Linked DNA regions of Homo sapiens: regions 1, 2 and 4 are each linked to region 3. The links are contacts of gene promoters, found by promoter capture Hi-C in blood cells and fetal thymus (Javierre and others, 2016). All regions are on one chromosome and are shown on one strand. The core of a region is centred on a gene start or on the middle of the fragment in contact, and the rest is flanking DNA. Distances in the headings are between cores, read along the strand shown.

Region 1 (3,462 bases), core at 597-3,096, 130 kb after region 3:
ACTGTAGTACTTCTAGATTGATTGGGTGATTTAAGGTTCTGACATATTCAGGCAAGAAAATAAAAGCAAGTGTTTCCTAGACTTCCTCATTGGGATTTGAAATAGAAATCCTGAAAAGCCCATAAAAGCCTATTTCCCTAAATCCTTGGTGGAAATTCCCAAAAGATTAAAAAATCCAGACCCTGTCTTATTATAGGGACCCAGCAGATTTCAAAAGACTCAAGAGGTCAGCTTAATCTGGTTATTAACTGAAATTGCTGAGATACTGATGAACATTCCAGCCATGGAACCCAAAATTCTCTAGAGTAATAATTACCTATTAGTGCAATGTTACTACTGAGGCCGTATATGCTTCATTTTTACAGTATAACAAAATGTCTAAAACTTATGAGAGTCCTACAACGTCTAGGCCACTCAGTATCACATCCAAGTAGGTATGGTTCCTGGATCACCAACCAACCCCTGAATTCGATCCTGTTATCTCACAGTCTGGGGTACTGATCCCGCACAGCAGAGACACAACGTGTGAAAGGCTCGGCAGAGCCCATTCCTGTTCCTGGAAAAATAACCAGAAGCACACATCTGCCTGACCATGAGTCAGGAATATCAATTTTGTGGTGGAGCCCATTTCTGCTGTGACCAACCCACACCCGAACACACTCGCAACAGAAGCAACCGCCACAGAGCAATTCCAGAATGAGCTTTTTCCCCCTCGGGGTCCATACTTAGCAATGTCATAAACGGTCTCCCCTGCGACAGCAATCCTTTTACACTCTTCATAATGACCTTAAGTCTTTAGTGCAAAACCACAGAAACATTGCCACTGCCATATAAAAGTCATCTGAGTTTCAGTTTGGGTGATTCGGTCATGACCAAACTGAACAGAGGATAACCTTTCAGGCACAATTAACAGGAGCCACAGCGTCGCGATGAACTTGCCCCATCTGGTACCGGTGATCCCGAGCGCTCCAGGGCGATGAGAGCCCGTTACCTACTATGTCCCACTCCACTTATGTAACTGGAAGATCGCCGGCGAAGGGGAGGGTAGGATGGGAGGGTGCTCACATTCCGAGGCCACAGCACTCCAAAGAACCTCTGAGCACCCTGGGGACACGCTCGCACCTTAGAGCCTCTGGCGCCGAAGAGCCTCGGGTGCTGCTGGACGCACAGTCCCCTACCCACGGCTCCTGATGGGAACTATAACCACCTCTTTATGATGAGTTGTGGGACCCAGAACACAATGTCTAGTCCCTTTTGTGGATAATAATCCCCACCTACTTGTTCCTGCTAGATGGGGAAAGGAGCCGGTGGACCTACTCGCTCGCGGGGGGGTAGCGGGGGGCAGAAATTCATGGAATGGGCGAGAAGGAGGGGGAGGCAAAGCCCAGAGATGGGGGTGAGAGCTCAGGAGCCCTTGTGGCGCACTCTCCCGACGGGAGGCGAAGTGCGCACGCGCGCCGGTGGGGGGGCCGAGTAACGGGAGAGGGGGCGCGCGAGGGAGGGAGGGGGAGAGCGCGATCCAGGGAGAGGCCGGGGCCGCGGGCGCGCGACGGCGCCGCGGCCCAAAGCCCCGAGAAGGGCAGGAGCGCGCGCAGCCCCGACAGGCGAAGCCCCGGCGACAGGGGCGCCCGCGGGGCCGGGGGCCGGGATGCGCGTCGAGGGCGGGAGGAAGAGGGGCGTCAGGCGAAGGCGGCTCCAGGGAGGCCGCGCCGAGGACGGTCACCCGCGAGCAGGGGTGACGGGCCGAGGGGAGAGTCGCCACCGGCGGCGGCGGGAGGGGGAGGGTAGAGAGGAGGGACGCCATCCGCCAGCCGTGTCGTCCGACCCCGCGGGCCCCTCCCGCGCCACGTCCCGCCCCTGACCCCCGCCCCCCGGCAAGGGTCCCCGCCCGCGGCCACGGCGGTCCCACTCACAGTCTCTCCTCCTCGCCTCCTCCTCCTCCTCCGCTCGGCGCGGCGGCGGCGGCGGCGGCCATTTTCCGGACGGCTTTTACCACAGCCCTCTCTCCGAGAGGAGGGAGCGCGCGCGCCGCCGACGCCGGGACCCCGCACGGCCGACGTCGCGCCCCGCCCTCTTGGCCGGCCCGCGCGCTGCTGCACCTGCGCGCCCGCGCCCCGCCCTCGGCGCCGCTGCGAGCCCGCCCGTCATTGGCTGTGATGGCCGGGCTGGGACGGGGAGGACGGGGGAGGGGGGAGTCTCAGCGGCGATGCCGTCAATTGGCGAGATTTCCTGTCCATTTCGGCCAGGGAAAAGGGGGCGGACCCCTCCAGCTGTTGATTGGCTGCTTTCGGCCGTCGTTTGGGGAAAAGAGGCGGCTTGGGCGCGGAGGGACTGGTTTAGTGGGCGGAATTTGAATGTTAAGGATTAATGGACCCTTGCGGATGCTGGGGCAAGTGAAGGCCTAGGCTTGGGACGCCTGTTTGCGCTGCTCTGAGGGGCGATTGACCCTCTGTCCACAGATGCACCGAGTGCGCTGCAATAAGCGTTTCATTGCACCCACATTTTCTCAATATCACTATCTTCGGCAGAAGCAGCAAAGTTGCCCACCCTGGAGCCTGACGTTGCCCCAGCTGAGGGGCCTTGGTTTCAGAGGCCTACTCAATGCATTATTTCATCCGAGCCTGCCCAGTGCTCACACTCTCATAGAGGCGGGGAATAAACTGACAACAAATCGCAACCCTGGCTTTCGCAGAACTCTGGCGGGGGAAGAGAGTGCATGCCAAGGCCTCGTGACACCTGTCACTGTTGGATCAGATGGTTTGGTGGAGGTGTGAATAAGGGGCAATGTTAGCTCTGCCTGGAAGATATGATTTGGGAGCTGAGATCCAGCAATTTTTCACTTTCCTAGAAGAGTTGATTTGGAGCTGAGATCCAGCAATTGTGTTTTGGGAAAATAAGAGTATGAGAAAACTGTTAGCTAACCAGGTGTTCAGGACAGGAGTGTTTGTTAAGGGGACCTTACCCTGATGCCAGTCATTATCCAATCCATTCAATGATCCTTCTGTTAGTTCTATGCTTAGCAAGAAAACCTGATTCTGATTTGGCTGCTTGCCCCCATTCATTTATTGACTACCTGCTATGTGCCAGGCACTCTTCCAGGCTCTGGATGCACGGTACTGAACAGACAGCAAACTAACATTCTTGCCGGGAAGATTCATACTAGCATACAAATAAGTATAATATATCATTTCACATAGTGATAAGGGCTTTGAGAAAGATAAACTAAGTGAAGGGGGTGCTATTTAGATATCTGCTGGTTTTCACCCTCATTTTACTCCCTCATATGAATATCTGGGGAAAGAACATTCCAGGCAAGTTCAAAGGACATGAGGAGAGACTATGCCTGGCATGTTGGGGACTAACGAGGAAGTCAGTGTTGCTGGAGAGTGGTAGGGAATGTGATTGGAAAGGCAGCTGGGGCCACTATGAGAACTGGGAGTTCATTCTTTTTTGGGGGGGGTG
Region 2 (3,219 bases), core at 260-2,759, 160 kb after region 3:
AAATCCTTGAATAGATTAAATTGTTTTATTCTTCATTTAAGAAATAGCTGTATGTCTTTGTCTTCTCTCCAGTTTTATCACAGTACGAAGTATGTAAAAGTGACAATGGGAACACTGTGCTTTGGTTTTTGCAAGATTTGAGATGTATCCATTATGATTTTCTCATGAGAAATTTTATTATGTTGACCTTTCTAAACCCATAATACTTACCTTGCAGATCACGTACGTCAGCATTTCTTACACTAAATATCTAAGGTTTTGTAAATGTAAACACGAGTTGAGCTAAACTGAGTTATAATAATGAATATCTGTATTTTTAAAATCAACCTTTTAAACTTCCAACAATAGCAGTAATTGTGTAGCCCTACAAAGTTACTCCACCTTGTAAACGGAATAAATTGTAGTGTCATATTTGTCAAATTTTATTCATGAAGTGTGATCATATTGTGCTACTATCATTTCTTTTTTTCTTTTTTTTTCTTTTTTTTTTTTTTTGAGATGGAGTCTTGCTCTGTTGCCAGGCTGGAGTGCAGTGGCATGATCTTGGCCAACTGTAACCTCCGCCTCCTGGGTTCAAGCGATTCTCCTGCCTCAGCCTGTCGAGTAGGTGAGATTACAGGCGTGCGCCACCACACCCAGCTAATTTTTGTATTTTTAGTAGAGACAGGGTTTCACCATGTTGGCCAGGCTGGTCTTGAACTCCTGACCTCGTGATCCGCTCACCTGGCCTCCCAAAGTGCTGGGATTACAGGTGTGAGCCAACACGCCCAGGCAGCCTAGTATAATTTCTAAGATTCCCTCATCTACTGACTTTGATACCTGGGGTAGACAATAAATTGAGGTAATTAGCAAGTATATTTACCTGGATAATCTCCAAAGGAATGAAAATTCATAAAGACAAAATGCAAACACACACAGTTATTTCTGACATATATGTATTCTAGTCTATGCATAAACACAATGGTGCCACACAACACTCATAAATCAGAAAATCACTGTAGTCTAAACATTGTTTTGTGCTATGCCTGAATTTTTACTTATTTTTTTTTTAGAGACCGAGTCTCACTCTGTCACCCAGGCTGGAGTGCACTGGTGCAATCCTAGCTCACTGTGGCCTCAAACTCCTGAGCTCAAGTGATCCTCCCACCTCAGCCTCCCAAGTAGCTGGGATCACATGCGGGTGCCACTACACCCTGCTAATTTTTGCATTTTTACTTTTTGTAGAGATGGGGCCTTGCTGTGTTGCCCAGCCTACTCTCGAACACCTGGCCTCCAAGCAATCCTCCCATCTTGGCCTCCCAAAGTGCTGGGATTACAGGCATGAGCCCCCACGCCCAACCTATGCCTGATTTTTAAATTTTTACTATAAAACCTAAACTTTTAAAGCAGTAAATAATACCACTACCTGAACATCTGTGTGTGTGTGTGTGTGTGTGTGTGTGTGTGTGAGATGGAGTCTCACTCTGTTGCCCAGGCTGGAGTGCAGCGGCGTGATCTCGGCTCCCTGCAACCTCTGTCTCTCAGGTTCAAGCAGTTCTCCTGCCTCAGGCTCCCAAGTAGCTGGGATTACAGGCACACACCACCATGCCTGGCTAATTTCTGTATTTTTAGTAGAGATGGGGTTTCACCATGTTGACCAGGCTGGCCTCAAACTTCTGACCTCAGGTGATCTGTCTGCCTCAGCCTCCCAAAGTGCTGGGATTATAGGCATGAGCCACCATGCCTGGCCGTGAACATCTTTTACTGTGACTGCATATAAGTGTATGTTTACATAAACATACATAGAGGTGTATTACATCAATGAATGTTTTTTAAAGTTTCTGTATGATGGAGTGCAGAGGCCTGGGCGCAAGGGAGTAAAGGGTCTTTAAGTAATCAATATATTTTCAACCTCAAGTATCCTATCTAGAGCCAGAGGTTTTTTTTCTCACCCTACTAGGAGCTCACAGCACTGCAAATCTGTTAACAGAGGTGCTTTTATGCTGCCCCTTGGCATGGTTATTTCATAACTGCAGCCAATTATAAGAGAACAAGCAATCGAACAGAACAAAGAGCAAAGGCTCTTCCTTTGTGGAGGAGCTAAAATTCCCACTGCTTACCATGTTACCTTCTCCTGTGTGTTGTTATCAAATATTGGGACTCTGGTTACACTGTCAAGGCCATGGGCCTTTCTTGTTCTAGGGCAGCTGTGCTCCTCTCTTAAGCAACTGACCCGTGTCTCCTGGCAACTCTCTTTGGTACTGGACTTCTCCAAGATCAGTCCTCAAATTAATAACAACACTGACAAGGGTCTTCGGACCACCGTGTTTGGTACCTGGCTGCTTGGGACCATCCAGGTTTGCCCCTTTGCCTGGCTTGGGTAACCCACTGTATGGTGCACACGAATAAAGGCTGATGCCGAGAAGAATGAGGCTTGTAGTTACGAAAAGTGACTCAATGGAATTAAAAAATCTACCCTGCAGCCTGGGAGCAGTGGTTCACACCTGTAATCCCAGTGCTTTGGGAGGCCAAGGCAGGAGAGTCGCTTGAAGCTAGGAGTTGGAGACCAGCCTGGGCTATATAGCGAGACCCTGTCTCTACAGAAAAAATACAAAAATTAGCTGGGCATGGTGGTGTGTGGCTGTAGTCCCAGGTACCTCGAGAGGCTGAGGCAGGAGGATCGCTGGAGCCCAGGAGGTCGAGACTGCAGTGAGTTGTGATCGTGCCACTACTGCAGCCTGGGTCACAGAGCAAGATCCTGTCTCAAAACAAACAAACAAACAAACAAACAAACAAAAACTATCCTGTAAATGTATAAAAATGTCACTAATTTCAATGTGTTTCGGTAAAAAGGAATGAAGTACCGATACATGCTGAAATTCAGATAGATCCTCAAAAGCATTTTGCTCAGTGAAAGAAGCCACACATGAAAAGTCACATATCAGATGAGCCACTTTATGTGAAATATCCAGAATAGAGGAATTCATAGACACAGACAGCAGATTAGCGGGTGCCAGGGGCTGAGGGATTAGGGGATGGGGAGTGGCCACGTAATGGACACGGGGTTTCTGTACGGCATGATGAAATATTCTGAAAGTACATAGTGGTGATGGTGGCACAACGTGCATTAGTAAATGCACTAAATGTCACTACACTGTACACTTTCAGATGACTAATTTTATGTTATGTGATTTTCACTTTAATTAAAAACCACCATATTGGCCAGGCGTGGTGGCTCAC
Region 3 (3,516 bases), core at 834-3,333:
ACACCTGAGGTCACAGCGTAAAACAGAGACAGAGACAACAGCCCCATCACTGACTTGAAGCAACCGATCTGTGCCTTCCCTAGGGTCCCATGTCCAGGCAGCCACCCTCACTCCCCTGAGCACCCTCGTGGTCAAAGCCCACAGCTATGGGGCTGCGGGTCAGAGTTTGGGACAAAGCTAAATGGCACGTGGGGTCAGTGGGCAGCTTTCCTATCACACGCTGATCAGTGAGCCGGTGGGCCAGGCCAGAAGCGCCCTGTGATATCTTTGGGGATCCCGCTCACCAGATCCTTCTACAGGACCCAAGAGGTGCTGATCTCATTCTAGAACACTCCAGGCAGGGCAGGGGCCCTCCCCACCCCCGTCAAGAGAGGTCTGTCAGGGAGCACAGCTCCTGGTGTGACGACAAACCTGCGGCTCCTCATCTCACCCACGAGTCCTGGTTCCGCCCCCTGAAAGCACACGAGCAAGCTCTCCTCCCTTCTCCCAGCTTTTCAATGTGACAGCTGCTCTCAGTCACCCCTGAATCATCTGGGGGGTGTCATGTAACCCAATCCTTGGGCCCCTCATCCTGGAAATGCTGGCTCTCAGCTGGGAGGGGAAGGTGGGGAAAGGACCCTGCACTAGATGAAGACCACTCCAGCTCCCCTCTCCTGAGCAAGGCTGTGCCCCGGCCTCTCTGTGTTTCATCAGCTCCCCCAACCACTTCATGCTCTGCAAGCTCCATCCCTGGTTGCCACTGTCCCATCACCACCTAGAGACTGGTGCCCATGCAGTGAGGTGGCCGGTCAAGTTCAACGAGCTGCCTTCCTCTCTGTTCTACCTGTCACATTAGAGCATTTCCTGTGTGGCATACGACGTGCTGGGAGGCACAGAGGACACCGATCTTGTGCTCATACTCCCAATGGGGTAGGAAGGCTGCATGCCCCCCTCCCACGATGAGACAAACACCCTAGAAGAGCTCTGACCAAGCCGGGCCCTTGGGAGCACAGAGCAGTGCGACTGCTGGAGAGGGGAGGACAGGAGTGGAAAGGGCTTCTCAGAAGAGGTGACGTTTCAGCCGGGCCTTGAAGGGTGAACAGGATTTCCCGACAAATGAAACTAGCAGGGCCAATCAGGAAGTGACTGCAAGAGTCTAGTAAGAGGAGAGGAGGGCTTGGTGTGGAAGGGGACACATTTGATGCCTGCCCAACGCAATGAACAATTAGATACAGGGACAGAGGAGAGAATGGAGGCATTTCAAAGGTGATGGGCCCCAAAGACAGGTGGCAGAACGGCCTCTATGAAGGTTTGCACTCCCGCCCAACTCCGCCACCAGCTGGGAGGGCGACCCTGGACCTGTCACTTCCCCTCTTGGACCCCAATTTCCTCATCTGCAGAAACAAGGAAGTAGTTCCACTAGGTATTTTCCAAGGCTCCCTCCAGCTCCAAGAACCTATGGACATTACAGAGCCACCGTAGCCAAAGCTCTCGCTCCCCCACCCCCCACACCTGGCAGCACTCTGAATCCTTTGGCTTGCCACATGGAACTAAAATTCCCTAAGGACAAGCACAGTAGCTACCCTAAGAGCTCTCAAAGCACACACCCCCTGAAGCTTTCTTATCCTAGCAACGGGAACCCCTTCCAGATCAGCTCTCTCCAAAGGTACAAGGCTTTTTGAGGACTGATCCCGCAGAACTGCAAGGGGCACAGGCGTGAGAATATGCCCTGATCTCATCCCAAACACAACAAAAGAAGACAAGACAAAGGTGACGAGGCCGGGCTGGCGGGAGGGGGCAGAAACCCCGGTGAGGAAGAGGGCTTCAGGTCTGCCAGCTGCTCTCTCGTCTGAGGAATTGCCGATGACAGTTTCCAAACTGCTACCCTGGAGGATCCCAGAGCTTCATTTTAAGCAGCCCTTTGGAAGGCAGGCTACCCCTCTAATGCACAACCTGTCTTTGCAGACTGGTAATGAATTCATGCCAAAGTGGTCAATTCATTTTAATAAACTAATGAATATGCAGAGGCCCCAGGAAGCCAAGGCAGCAGTGGTGGTGGACTCTGGAGCCGACTGTAATTAGGCCCCTGCCCTACTTTCTAAAATTGCATTTCCCTGCCAGGGAGCCTGCTCCAGGCCTTATGAGAAGAAAGTCGGTCCACAGAGTGGAGAAGGTGCTGCTCATGGTGACGGTGCCTCTATAAACAGCCCCACCACTGGAGAAGCCTTAGCTTACTGAGCTAATTCCTGCTACTGCAGCTGCCTGGGCTGGCGCGGGGCACCACCAACCACCAAGCGCCCCCGCCCGGGGGCTGCTGAGAAAGGCCCTGCTCCCTGGAGGCAACAGGTGCTGAGAGACCTGGAACGAAAAACGGTCACAGACAACCCACCAGCCTTTCAAAGTCAACGTGGTAGGTGGCGATAATCTCCGAGATGTGGAGAAACCAGCACTTTCTGCCTTGGGGGGTGGGGAAGGAAGCGGCACCCAAGAGCCCAGCTCCAGCCTTCCCAACTCCCTAAACCAACTTTCTCCCTCCAGGCAGCTCCAGCTTCCCACCCCCAGAGCATCGAGGCACTGGAGCTCAGCCAAAGAACAGCAGCCTCTCACCGCTCAGGACACAAAGCCCACTCAGCGAGGGTTTGTCTGCAGGGCCACCACCGAGGCCAGGGGATCGCTAGAGCCCCCAGGAGAGAACGGCCGCGGAGCAAGGGGTTAGTGCTGGGAGCCGTGCCTGCCACTCAGGACTAGGGCATCCCAAGGCCCTCCCCCAGCCGCCTGCAGGGGGCTTTTCCCTCACCCAGACTCTTCCAGCTCTTGCCTGGGACCGAACTCACCCTGACCCTGCCTTCTGGGCAAGGCCAGGGTCCTGTGGGCCAACGGGCAGTCAGTAGGCAACTTGGGAACTGACCCTTGTGCTAGGGGCACAAAACGGGCCAAGTAGCCACCAAGAAAAAGGATGCCACAAAGCTGTCGTGGACAGCAGCAGGCTTTCTGCCCTAGAGACTAAGCAAGGCTACTAGGCAGAGGCAACAACAAACGGCCCCCACGAAGGCCGTGGTGCATCAGCCATACCTGAAGAGAGAGGTTCCTCCCCTTCCCAACTAACGGGCTTTGGGTTTTGCAGGGAGGCAGAAGAGCGGGTGGGGTAACCCCCTGGATCCGCAGAAGCGGGGAGACACACGACTACGCAGGCCGCTGAGGGGTAACTGGAATTCAGCTTGTAAACCAGAAGGCACCAGATTAGGAGAAGGGGCGACTTGGAAAGAAATGCTGCAGAAGTAAACGTGGAAAGGGAGAGGCGGCCCTGCCGCCGGCCCGTCCTAGGGGTCCCCAAGGCTCCGGCATTACCCGGGTCGGCGGATGTTAAACTCTGCGTCCTAAGAGCGCTTCCCTTCCCTCCCTTTTTCGAGAGACAGAGAACGAATCTGTAATCTAGAAATGGTCATTTCTCCAGAATGGGCACTCGAGATGAGGGAGAGCTGAGCAGGCGCAGGAGAAGGGAGGGAGGGAGGGAGGGGAGCTCTGCCTGCGCCAAGG
Region 4 (3,532 bases), core at 187-2,686, 140 kb before region 3:
AGCCTCCCAAAGTGCTGGGATTACAGGCGTGAGCCACCACGCCTGGTCAATTTTTTGTATTTTTAGTATAGATGGGGTTTCACCATGCTGGCCAGGCTGGTCTCGAACTCCTGACCTCATGATCCACCCGCCTCGGCCTCCCAAAGTGCTGGGATTACAGGCGTGAGCCACCGCACCCAGCCAATTTCCACTTCTTAATGACCAACTGAATGGCCCGAGGGCAGCAACTCCCTCCTCCACCCAGTGAGATCCCGGGGGACACACCATCTGTTTTCCTTGTCACAATGGCCCTCGGACGCAAGCACTCTTCACTGCCATTTCACAGTTGAGGAAACTGAGTCACTGAGCCAGTGGGCCATGCAGCGACTTGCCCCTGGCCACACAGCTGTCAGTTGGTGGCTGCCTCCATTCCTATCTCCACACTGCACTGCCTTCTCTGGCAGGGCCCCTGAAGTAGAAGGAAGGAAAGGACACCTTTCTCCCCAGGATGCGTGCATGTGGCCATGGAGTTCCTGTTCTAAAGCTTTGGTGAGGTCTGTTGCTGGGTGGTAACCTGCACATCTTCAGTGTGCAAAGGGCAGGTGTTCATATGTCATACATGAACCTGGGGAACCATCACCACCGTCAGGACAGTGGCCATTTCTATCTTCCCCAAAAGTGTCCTCATGCCCCTCTGCCCATCCCTGCAACCACGAATCTGCTCTCTGGCACTATCGAATTTCATTTCAGCAGACTGGACAGTCCTCAGGAACCCCGAGATGAGAGGGGAAAGGGCATTCTACAATCTTGGGACAATGACACAAAACAGGATGACCTGGTCCAGAAGATGGCAGTCAGAATTCAGTGTCCAGCCCTCTGTTCTTCCACTCCACAAGGACTTTCTCAGAGCCTGCTTCTTCCCCAGTCAGCTTCTGCGGCAGAACCACTGAGTTGACTGAGAGTCCAGCTTTCCCCTGGAAGGGTGGAGGCCAGCGTGGATGTGCTGGCAGCATCTGGTGCTGGTGAGGCGGGGAGGCAGAGTGCCCATGCCAGACCCAAATCCCTGCTCACAGGAAGCCCCCATGCAAGCAGGAGGGAGCCAGAGAAGCCACCTGGCTTGGTGGGTGGGAGAGCAGTTTGGAGGAAGACGTCGCTGAAGAGGGGACACTGGCTGCCAGCCACGCTCCCGCACTCAAGCAGTACTTTCTCTCCCCCGCAGTTGCCTACATGTTGGCGATGGTCTCCCCCTTACAAAAAGGGGAGCCTGGGGCCAGGCGTGGTGGCTCACTCCTGTAATCCCAGCACTTTGGGAGGCCGGTGTGGGTGGATCACCTGAGGTCGGGAGTTCAAGACCAGCCTGACCAACATGGAGAAACCCCATCTCTACTAAAAATACAAAATTAGCCAGGCATGGTGGCGCATGCCTGTAATCCCAGCTACTCGGGAGGCTGAGGCAGGAGAATCGCTTGAACCCTGGAGGCGGAGGTTTTGGTGAGCCCAGATCGTACCATTGCACTCCAGCCTGGGCAACAAGAGCGAAACTCTGTCTCAAACAACAACAACAACAACAACAAAAGGGGAGTCTGGGGGAGGGGCAAGGCCCTGTCTGCAGTGTCTCCCTGCTGAATGCCACGCACCCAGGATGGCTGCCAGCACCATGGGGGCTCACATGCAGGTGCTTTAGGCAAGAATGCCTGGGAGATCACCAGAAGGGCTGGCCAGCTGTCCTTTGGCCTCCCTCGATGTGGACAGAGGGGAGATGACAGGCGGTCCTGACCCACTCCCCCTGTAAAGCCTGAGTAGGATGGGCGGGAGACCAGTCCTAAGTACCAGGGGTTTATCCCCTGACCATCTCCGGCGTGCTCGGATGCTAGCAAGCACATCATGGTGTCAGAGAGGGGGTGCCAAGGCCAAGACAAGTTCAGCAGAGTGTGGACCACGATGAGATATATGACAAGGGGGCCTGGTGGCAGTGGAGGGACATGGGCTGCAGAAAAGGCTCCGGAGCTGGGGACATGCTGTTTCCTGCCTTCCATTCTGGGCAACCAGCCTGCTTCCTTTTCCTAACTCAACACGCAGTAATCCTCCATTTTCAGGGGAGGTCCCAGATTTTCCAAACTAGGAGGACATGATTGGAATATAGGAATGGGGCTGAGGTTCCGACATGACACACGAAAGTGCCTGTGACAACCCACATCCGTGGAATAAAGGAACCATGTGGTCATCTCACTAGCCACAGAAGCAGCACTGCACAATCCAATGCCTCTCATGATAAAAACACACTAGGAATAGAATGGGAACTTCCTTACCCTGATAAAGGACAGCTATGAAAAAGCCACAGCTAACTTTATACCCCCTAGTGAAAGACTGGAAGCTTCTTTACCTTTAAGATGAGGAACAAGGGAAAGACATTCACAGGCACTTCTATTCAACATTGTACTAGAGACTCCAGCCAGAGCAAATTAACAAGAAAAAGAAATCGAAGGGCCAGGAACGGTGGTTTACACCGGTAATCCCAGCACTTTGGGAGGCCGAGGCGGGCAGGATTGCTTGAGGCCAGGAGTTCAAGACTAGCCTGGCCAACATGGCAAAAGCTCGTCTCTGCTAAAAATACAAAAATTAGCTGGGTGTGGTAGTGTGTGCCTGTAATCCTAGCTACATGGGAAGCTGAGGCAGGAGAATCACTTGAACCCGGGAGGCGGAGGCTGCAGTGAGCCGAGATTGCACCACTGCACTCCAGTCTGGGTGACAAAGTGAGACTGTGTCTCAAAAAAAAAAAAAAAAAGAAAGAAAGAAAAGAAAAGAAATCAAAGCCATCCAGATTGGAAAGGAAGAAGAAAAACGATTTCTATTTGCCAATGACATGATCCTAATATGTAGATAATCCTGAGGAATCTACTAAACAAATTATACTTAATAAACAATTTTAGTAAGGTCGCAAGATATAGGATCAATGTATAAAAATCAATTTTTTTTTTGAGACAGAGTCCTGCCCTGTCACCCAGGCTGGAGTGCAGCGGTGCAATCTCAGCTCACTGCAACCTCTGCCTCTGGGGTTCATGCGATTCTCTTGCCTCAGTCTCCTGAGTAGCTGGGATTACAGGCACACATCACCATGCCCCGTTAATTTTTTTTGTATTTTTAGTAGAGACGGGGTTCCACTATGTTGGCCAGGCTGGTCTTGAACTCCTAAGCACAGGTGAGCCACCCGCCTTGGCCTCCCAAAGTGCTGGGATTACAGGTGTGAGCCAACACGCTCAGCCAATCAATTGTATTTCTATACAGTAGCAATGAGAAGGCTGAAAGTAAAATTAAGAAAACGATTCCATTTATGATAGCATCATAAAGAAAATACTCATGAATAAACTTAAACAAAAGTGCAAAACATCATGTAAAGAAATTAAAGACCTAAATAAATGGAAAACGCACCCCATGCTCATGAACAATACTACCCAAATTGATCCACAAATTTGATGCAATCTCTATCAAAATGCCAACTGGCTTCTTTCCAGAAATTAACAACCTGATCCTGAAATTAATATGGAAACTTGAG

Evidence for each region. Contacts are between HindIII fragments. The CHiCAGO score rates a contact against its expected background, and 5 or more counts as called.
Region 1: a fragment that was not itself captured here is called in contact with the fragment with the promoter of HCFC1-AS1 in region 3 in 7 of 17 cell types (M2 macrophages, M1 macrophages, activated CD4 T cells and 4 more); the score reaches 10.2 in M2 macrophages.
Region 2: a fragment that was not itself captured here is called in contact with the fragment with the promoter of HCFC1-AS1 in region 3 in 1 of 17 cell types (naive CD4 T cells); the score reaches 5.1 in naive CD4 T cells.
Region 4: a fragment that was not itself captured here is called in contact with the fragment with the promoter of HCFC1-AS1 in region 3 in 5 of 17 cell types (non-activated CD4 T cells, activated CD4 T cells, naive CD4 T cells and 2 more); the score reaches 6.1 in non-activated CD4 T cells.

What each region holds. Positions count from the first base shown.
Region 1 is chrX:154,095,691-154,099,152 of GRCh38, forward strand. It overlaps MECP2 (methyl-CpG binding protein 2), which reads right to left and starts at 2,027. Exons shown (of 3, transcript NM_001110792.2): 1 at 1,914-2,027. The coding sequence starts at 1,975. RefSeq lists an enhancer at 1,043-1,132 and silencers at 1,453-1,532, 1,593-1,652, 1,629-1,867, 1,953-2,312. The HindIII fragment of the contact is 4,609 bases long and covers 1-3,462 here.
Region 2 is chrX:154,130,003-154,133,221 of GRCh38, forward strand. No RefSeq gene overlaps it. Among named protein-coding and RNA genes, the nearest start is that of OPN1LW, 13 kb to the right of the region's middle. The HindIII fragment of the contact is 8,995 bases long and covers 1-3,219 here.
Region 3 is chrX:153,966,682-153,970,197 of GRCh38, forward strand. It overlaps HCFC1-AS1 (HCFC1 antisense RNA 1), which reads left to right and starts at 2,084. Exons shown (of 3, transcript NR_046608.3): 1 at 2,084-2,389; 2 at 2,518-2,690; 3 at 3,104-3,410. The region is part of intron 1 of HCFC1 (host cell factor C1); the gene reads right to left. RefSeq lists enhancers at 1-317, 3,508-3,516 and a silencer at 2,543-2,721. The HindIII fragment of the contact is 6,911 bases long and covers 1,594-3,516 here.
Region 4 is chrX:153,823,470-153,827,001 of GRCh38, forward strand. All of the region lies in intron 1 of PDZD4 (PDZ domain containing 4), which reads right to left. Among named protein-coding and RNA genes, the nearest start is that of PDZD4, 5.3 kb to the right of the region's middle. RefSeq lists an enhancer at 3,455-3,532. The HindIII fragment of the contact is 1,830 bases long and covers 522-2,351 here.